Regions from separate parts of the Homo sapiens genome. Here regions 1 and 3 are each linked to region 2. Evidence: promoter capture Hi-C in 16 types of primary human blood cells and fetal thymus (Javierre and others, 2016). All regions are on one chromosome and are shown on one strand. Each heading gives the region's core, a stretch centred on a gene start or on the middle of the fragment in contact. The rest is flanking DNA. Distances are from core to core; before and after follow the strand shown.

Region 1 (2,700 bases), core at 53-2,552, 2.1 Mb after region 2:
GTGCCCCTATAAAAGAGGCCCCAGATTGCTGCTTGCTCCTTCCACCACGTGAGGACACAGCTAGAAGGTGCTATGAACCAGGAAGTGGGCCCACACTAGACACTGAATCTGCCAGTACCTTGATCTCAGACTTTCCAGCCTCTAGAACAGTGAGAAATAAATTTGTTAGTTACAGGCTACCTAAAGTTCTTGCTATACTATTATACACCAGCCCAAATAGACCGAGACACTACTGTTCCTTTCCCTGTTTCCTAAAGCCATGAAGGACCCAGATAGGCTTTTATTTTTTTTCCCCTGCAGCTCACTGTGACCTTTCTAGTTTCTCTTCCTCTAACTGGATAATGAATGCCGCAGCCCTGTCCCCTGAGGGGTCCCTTCAGTTAGGTCCCTAAACACACATGCTGGGCTCCCTGGCAGCCAGAGAGGGCAAGTGGGGATTCAGATCCTGCCCCTTCGAGATCTCCCCATGCTAACTAGCACATTCTGCTTCTCCTATGTGTGTGTGTGTGTGTGTGTGTGTGTGTGTGTGTGGGTAACAACATGTATGTCAGAAGGATGGATAAAGTTCTTGCTATGTAAAGTTGCAAAAATAGGTTTTAGCATATTTATTTTGGAAAATCAACCTGTTTTAAAGTTTTATTTTTACTGTACAAAATAGGATTAAATATAAAATGACTTTTGCTCCAAAATATCATTATTTTTGATTTACCAGTCTTCTCATGAGAGGTCCCATTAAAAAAATTACCTTAGTCTAATCTCAATAATGTCAAACTAATTCATATCTGAAATGTGTGCTATTTCATCTTTAATATCCTTAATCTCAGCTTGGACTATTGTTAAATTAGATATTTTTTCACTTAAGAAAGCAATTTCTTTCTCTCTTTGTAGTAAGTCGGTAACCAATCTCCCAATGCGTAGTGTTAAATCATTTACTAATGGTTCTAAACGGGAAAAGTCCTTCTTTAGATTATACACCTTTGGTTTTAGATCATTTGCAAAAGTCACTGTCTTCAGAACTTTGGCTCTGTCACCTTCTAAGCTTAGAAATCTATCTGTATGTTTGTCGAAGTCACTCTTTAGTTCGGTTAGCGTCTTCTTAACAGAGTTAATTCTTTGTGAATTTTCAGATGCTGTCTTTCGGAGCGTTGCTGTTCGATCAATACTGCTTGAAAGAAGATCACCTATATTTTTTACTGTATTTTTTTCTACTTTCTCTATTTTATTTTCTAGTTCTTGCACAGAATCTGTCAATGATATTACATCAGTTACTAAACCTGAAATCCGTCGTATATCTGTTTTTACACTTGTAATCTTGAGACCAACATCTTTTGCCATGGAAGTTGTACTTTGGTCTACTTTTGTAATGTCTTGAGAAAGCGTCGTCAGACTGTTGTTCAGTATATCCTGTTTTTCAGTTATCCTATTGGACCAAGTTTTTACCTCATTAATTTCTTCCTGTAGACGCTTTAGATGAGCAATTATTTGAAAAGACTTCAATTGTTCCATGATAGCTTCAGATTTCTGCCACTATAAGAAAATATAATATCACAATGATTAAATGTATTAGAAGCTTACCATTTAAAATTCATCTTAAATTTTATATTTCTTTTTAATTTTAATTTTTTTTTTGAGACAGAGGCTTGTTCTGTTACCCAGGATGGAGTGCAGTGGCACGATCTTGGCTCACTGAAACCTCCACCTCCTGGGTTCCAGCGATTTTCCTGACTCAGCCTCCCAAGTAGCTGGGATTACAGGCACCCGCCCCCACCTCAGCTAACTTTTTTTGTATTTTTAGTAGAGACGGGTCTTCACCATGTTGGACAGGCTGGTCTCGATCTCCTGACCTCTGGTTATCTGCCCACCTCGGCCTCCTAAATCCATGCCTGGGATTACAGGCGTGAGCCACCACGCCCTGCCTTATGTTATTTTTTAACTACACTTTACTGTTCTTCTGGAAAGCATATGGTAAAAGACGACTTCAGAAGTAAGAGAATTTAGAACAATGTAAGTGAATTACTAATGAATAAGAAGGAAACATTAAGAAAATTTCATGAAATGTCCCTGGAAATTACATTTTTTACATTATAATATTTTCACAATTGGTCTTCTGTACAGTAATAAAATGAGCTACATGAGACAGTGATGTGGTTTTTCAGTTGCTGGAGAAGGGAAAAGGAAGTTTCCTCCAGTTGAGCTTTGCTAGGTGAGACAAGGCAACATAAGTTCTTTTTTATTTCAGCTTTATTAAGGTATAATTGACAAATTAAAATTGTATATATTTATTGTGTACAATGTAATATTTTGATATACATATCTACGCACATATTGTGAATGATTAAATCAAGCTAATGAACATATCTATCACCTCATGTATTTTTTTTTGTAGTAAGAATATTTAAGATCTACTCTCCTAGAAATTCTCTCTTTTTTTTGGAGATGGAAGTCTCACTCACTCTGTACCCAGGCTGGAATGCAATAGCCCCATCTCTGCTGACTGCAACCTCTACCTCCTGGGTTCAAGTGATTCTCCTGCCTCAGTCTCCAGAGTAGATGGTACCACAGTTGTGTGCCACCACGCCTGGCTGATTGTTGTTTAGTAGTGACAGGGTTTCACCATGTTGACTAGGCTGGTCTGAAACTCCTAATCTCAAGTGATTCGCCCGCCTCGACCTCCCAAAGTGCTAAGATTATAAGGCATGA
Region 2 (2,700 bases), core at 54-2,553:
GAAAAGAAGGTTCTCCATTTTCTCAATACTCATACTTTAATAAATTTAACTCTGACTTTTGCCTATAATACACAGGCTAAGAATAAACTCCCCAAGTATTTCCCTGGAGGTCTGTAGTTTCCCCATCAGAAGTAAAGTCTCCTAAAAGCCCTGTTTAAAATGCAAAGTATTTTGAGAGTTAACACTTCAGGCCACTAGTATGTATTAATGTCCTATGGTTAAGGTTGAGCAAAATGCACATTAATTTAGAATACAGAGATAATTAAAGTAAGGCTGGAATGTGCATAAATAGATGTAATCATAATTATTAGAGGCATAGACATCATGTCCACAGTTACAGACCTCAAGGTACAAATAGAGGAAAGAGAATGGATCAGCTGCATATTCAGTACTCCCTGGCTATCTGTGGGGGACTAGTTCCATGACACCCGCAGATACCAAAATCTGTGGATGCTCAAGCCTCTGATATGAAATGCTGTAGTATTTGCATATAATTTGTGCACATCCTTCAGGATGTTTTAAATCATCTCTAGATAACTAGTAATACCTAATACAGTATAAATGCCATGTAAATAGTTGTATTTTGTGTTATTTTTATTGTTGTATTGTTATTTCTAATTTTGTTCTGAATATTTACAATCTGGAGTTGCTTGAATCCACAGATGAAGAACCCGAGATTTGGAGGGCCAACTGTATTTGATTCTTAAACTGCTTGTCAGATATTTCTCTAATTTCAATTTGATTAATAAGCTTTGTTTTGGGGAGTGATCAATACAGCCTATTCATTTTGAGCACAGGCTTTGGAGTCACAAGTTCCCTTTGGAGGACCTGGTCGCTGACACTACGGTTGTACGCTGACTTTTGTCAAATGACTTAACCTCCTTGAGCTTTGGTTTCCTAAACTGTGAGATGGATATACTAATAGTATCCTAAGTTGTAAAGTAGTTATGATGATTAAATGAGATAAATGAAAGTACATGTTTCAAATGCTTAATGCCTGACACACGTTAATGGTCATGGTCGTCATCATTATCGTTATTAAGTGGCCAACATGGATAAAGAGTATAGTCTGGATTTGTGACCTTAAATTTTTGGCTCTAATATTCGCCAGCGCTCTGCTCAGAACATTCTCTGTTCGCATTTCATACAGCGGTGCCAGCGCACAACCAGGCAACGCCCTCAGGAGCATCATTGTTTTCTGGACCTGGTTCTTTCTCGCTCTGCCCTCCAGGGGCCGCTGTGTTTCTCGGAATGCGCGCGGGATGCCCGGTTGCCACGAGACCGTCGCCAGGCAACCGCGTGTACACATACTCCAGGCGGGCCGGGGCGCGTCAATATGGCGGCGCAGGGCTCCCCCTCGAGCTCTCCGTCAGACGACTCTACCACCTCGGGGTCTCTGCCAGAACTGCCGCCGACCTCCACCGCGACTTCGAGGTCGCCCCCAGAGTCGAAGGGGAGCTCCCGGAGCTCGCTGCTTCAGTGGACCTGCCCCGAGGACTCATTGCCCCTAGCCGTGTTTTATGGGCCGCTGGACGCGAAAAACCCGCTCCTGGCCTCTTGTGAGAAGGAGATCCAGGAGTTGTTAGGCTTTATGAGGAAAAAGAAGGCTTTAGCCACCACGGAGGAAGAGAAGCACGAATTCCGCCGGCGTTGGTAAGCGCTGGCGGGGCACTGGGGAGGGCGCCGGCCAGAGGAGGGACCCCTGGAAAGGGCTGGAGGATGCAGGTGGTGGCCCCAGAGATGGTTCAGCGTTGCGGACGCAGGGGCTGGCTGAAGGGCCCAGGAGAGACAAAGTTTAAGAAGTGGAGACTCGTCGCTCTTAACAATCCTTAATTCCTGGGAGCTGTTATATCTTGGCTTCCTGCTCAGGTCAAAATAAAAATCTACACAGAAATGTTTCATAACTCACCATTTGTTATTTGACCAGAAAAGAAAGATGGTAACATAAGCAGGAAAGAACCTTAAAAAGAGTTCGCAGTTTGCAGTAATAACATGGTGATAGAACTCCCAAAAAGGCAAACAGTTGCGCAGAATGAATAGCAAAATTAAGAAAAAGTCACTGTAATCCTAATAGCAATATAAGAAGGAATTAAAGTGCACATGTTCACAGGATGACATACTTCATTGTATCAAGAGCTAGCTTCATGAACCTGAGCTACCTCGAAGTTATTCCTTTTTCTCCATATACAAATTTATATACTCATAACATGGAAAGTTGTGAAACCCTTGAGCGAGCCAAAAATTTATACATGAATACAAAATACGAAAATTAGCTGGGCATGGTGGCACATGCCTGTACTCCCAGCTACTCAGGAGGCTGAGGCAGGAGAATTGCTTGAACCCGGGAGGCAGAGGTTGCAGTGAGCTGGGATCGCGCCACTACACTCCAGCCTGGGCGACAGAGCAAGACTCCTTCTCAAAAAATAATAATAATAAATAAATAAAATAAAATATTTTTTATTTATGCATATAACAACTATTTATTGAGCACATACTGTATATCAAGTGCTGTTCAAGGAACTAGGAAAACATCAAGTTAACAAAACATATAAGAATCCATGTCCTTATAGAGCATATGTTTTTGTGGGTATAAACAACCACTAAACAAATATGTAAGTAAATAATCTTACAAGGAGATGACTGCTAGGGAGAAAAATAGAACAGGGAATGGTGTTGGAGGATATGAGATGAATGTTGCAA
Region 3 (2,700 bases), core at 183-2,682, 2.1 Mb after region 2:
AAGTGCTGAGATTACAGGCATGAGCCACCGCACCTGGTCGCCTTGACTGCTTTGCTGTATCTGCAAGACTGTACTTTCTAAAAATCAAACTCAAAATCTAATTCTGAATTACAATGCAAATTGAATTCCCAATCTCATAGTGTTTAAAGTTAGGGCAATGTTTTGAGACCCAAAATTTTGGAATAGTGACACCTGGGCAGATTATGATTCCACTAGGACCATGAACCCCCATATTCTTTTTTTTTTTCTTTTTTGAGACAAGATCTCTAACTGTTGCTTAGGCTGGAGTACAATGGCGCGATCTCGGCTCACTGCTACCTCTGCTTCCCAGGCTCAAGTGATCCTCCCTCCTCAGCCTCTTGCGTAGCTGGGACTGCAGGGGCATGCCACTATGCCTGGCTTTTTTTTTTTTTTTTTTTTAAGAGACAGGGTTTCACCATGTTGTCCAGGCTGGTTTTTAACTCCTGGACTCAAGAGATCCACCTACCTCGGCTTCCCAAAGTTCTGGGATTATAGGCGTGAGCCACCATGCCCAGCCAGAACCCCTAAATTCTGTTGAGCCTCCTTGTCAGTCAAAGAAGCCCTTCCTCTCCTGTCTGAGGAGGTTATGTTCCTCGTCCCTGTGAAATCTGTAATGGCCTCACCTGAGGTGGTTGCCTGGCGGGATCTGCTGATTCTTCTTAAAACCTACTGTCCACTTTGGGAGGCCGAGGCAGGTGGATCACCTGAGGTTGGGAGTTCGAGACCAGACTGACCAACATGGAGAAACCCCATCTCTACTAAAAATACAAAATTAGCCGGGCATGGTGGCGCGTGCCTGTAATCCCAGCTACTCCGGAGGCTGAGGCAGGAGAATTGCTTGAACCCGGGAGGCAGATTTGAATCTCCACAGTGGAGAGTTATGGTCCTTCAGGCAATTTCCCTACTTGTGTCAGGTTGGAGGCCGAGAGCCTCTTGAATGTTAAGGAGGCCAACCCCCTTGTCTTAGTCCATACCTGCTGCAATAACATCACCTAAAGACGGATAAAAGGATTTTGTATCCTCTTTTGGGTAGAATTAGCTTGTTCACAATTGTCCAAGGGACAGCTGCTTCATGTTAGGTAGAAGTCTGATTTTGCTCTTTAGTTTTTGTCTGGAAGTTAAATATGATTACAAGAGGTGTTCATTGATGCCATGTTGACAACCGATAGACTCTGGTACTTTTTTTGTTGCTGTTGTTAATTAGTTTTTATTTCATAATCATAAACTTAACTCTGCAATCTAGCTAGGCATGGAAAGGAACAAGGAAAACATAGAACCCAAAGGGAACTGCAGTGAGAGCACAAAGATTCTAGGATACTGCGAGCAAATGGGGTGGAGGGTGCTCTCCTGAGCTACAGAAGGAATGGTCTGGTGGTTAAGATAAAACACAAGTCAAACTTATTAGAGTTGCCCACAGTCAGCAATGGTGATCTTCTTACTGGTCTTGCCATTCCTGGACCCAAAGCACTCCATGGTCTCCACAATATTCATGCCTTCTTTCACCTTGCTGAAGACCACATGCTTGCCATCCAACCACTCAGTCTTGGCAGCACAGATGAAAAACTGGGAACTGTTTGCGTTGGGTCCAGCATTTGCCATGGACAAGATGCCAGAAACTGTATGCTTCCGGATGAAGTTCTTGTCATCAAATTTCTCCCTGTAGATGGACTTGCCACCAGTGCCATCATGGCATGTGAAGTCTCCACCCTGACACATAAACCCTGGAACAATTCTGTGAAAGCAGGAACCCTTATAGCCAAATCCTTTCTCTCCAGTGCTCAGAGCATGAAAGTTTCCTGCTGTCTTTGGAAACTTGTCTGCAAACAGCTCAAAGGAGATGCGGCCCAAGGGCTCCGTGTCAAAGAACACGGTGGGGTTGACCATGGCTGATAGCACAGGGCTCCTGGCAGCAGCGGTGCCTGCAAAGCCCAGTGGTGTTTTTTTTACCATGTCAACTTAGCTAGGCTAGAACCACATTTCCTAGATTCCTTTCCCTGCATAGTTTTGGGTTAGGGCTAGCTATAAGAGAAATGTGTGCAGTTTGGAAGGCAGAAGTGGAGCAACAGTCATTACATTCTGAAGGTCACCAGCTCCCACATGGGGTAGGAGCTGGGCCTGCAGCTCCTTCAGTTACCACTGTATCTTCTAGATCAACTTCTGTGAGTTCTGGGCCACGAGCATGTGCAGCCCCATGGTGAAGGGTACCAGCTGTTCCAGCTGAAAAAATGTGCAGCAAAGGGTCACGGTATTACCCGGTGCTGGGGGAAGGGAATAGGAAGATTCACTACAGTCATATATTTTTACATAATATTTGACTTTTTCATGACAAAGGATTTTTAAATTAGAAAAGCACCATAAAGTTGAATTAACCAAAAAAGAGAGAGAGAAAGTCCAGACCCTTCAGTGACTACCTCTGTCTACATAAGATCAGACTCCTCAGTCTGGTATGTGAGGCCCTGGACAATCAGGTGCTAGTGTACTTTTTTAACTTTATCTGTCACTACTTCCCTTCCTGTGCCCTCCACTCTGGAATTCTTCCTGGGACTGTAGGACTTTAGTTGGGCCAGAAGGGCTGGGTCTGGGATAGGGTTGCTTAGAGAGTGCCGTGATGCCGCAGCCTCAATGCTAACTTTTGTTTTTTTGTTTTTTTTTTTTTTTGAGACGGAGTCTTGCTCTGTC

The links. The method cuts DNA at HindIII sites, captures the fragments that hold promoters and counts their contacts. A CHiCAGO score of 5 or more calls a contact.
Region 1: a contact is called between a fragment that was not itself captured here and the fragment with the promoter of CFAP54 in region 2, in 1 of 17 cell types (M0 macrophages). The highest score is 5.0, in M0 macrophages.
Region 3: a contact is called between a fragment that was not itself captured here and the fragment with the promoter of CFAP54 in region 2, in 1 of 17 cell types (naive CD4 T cells). The highest score is 5.6, in naive CD4 T cells.

What each region holds. Positions count from the first base shown.
Region 1 is chr12:98,612,814-98,615,513 of GRCh38, forward strand. It overlaps a transcript of IKBIP not described here. Among named protein-coding and RNA genes, the nearest start is that of SNORA53, 15 kb to the left of the region's middle. RefSeq lists an enhancer at 1-185. The HindIII fragment of the contact is 531 bases long and covers 1,038-1,568 here.
Region 2 is chr12:96,488,274-96,490,973 of GRCh38, forward strand. It overlaps CFAP54 (cilia and flagella associated protein 54), which reads left to right and starts at 1,304. Exons shown (of 68, transcript NM_001306084.2): 1 at 1,304-1,653. The coding sequence starts at 1,337. RefSeq lists a silencer at 1,158-1,452 and an enhancer at 1,343-1,552. The HindIII fragment of the contact is 3,410 bases long and covers 749-2,700 here.
Region 3 is chr12:98,589,301-98,592,000 of GRCh38, forward strand. It overlaps the pseudogene PPIAP8. Among named protein-coding and RNA genes, the nearest start is that of SLC25A3, 3.0 kb to the right of the region's middle. The HindIII fragment of the contact is 4,505 bases long and covers 1-2,700 here.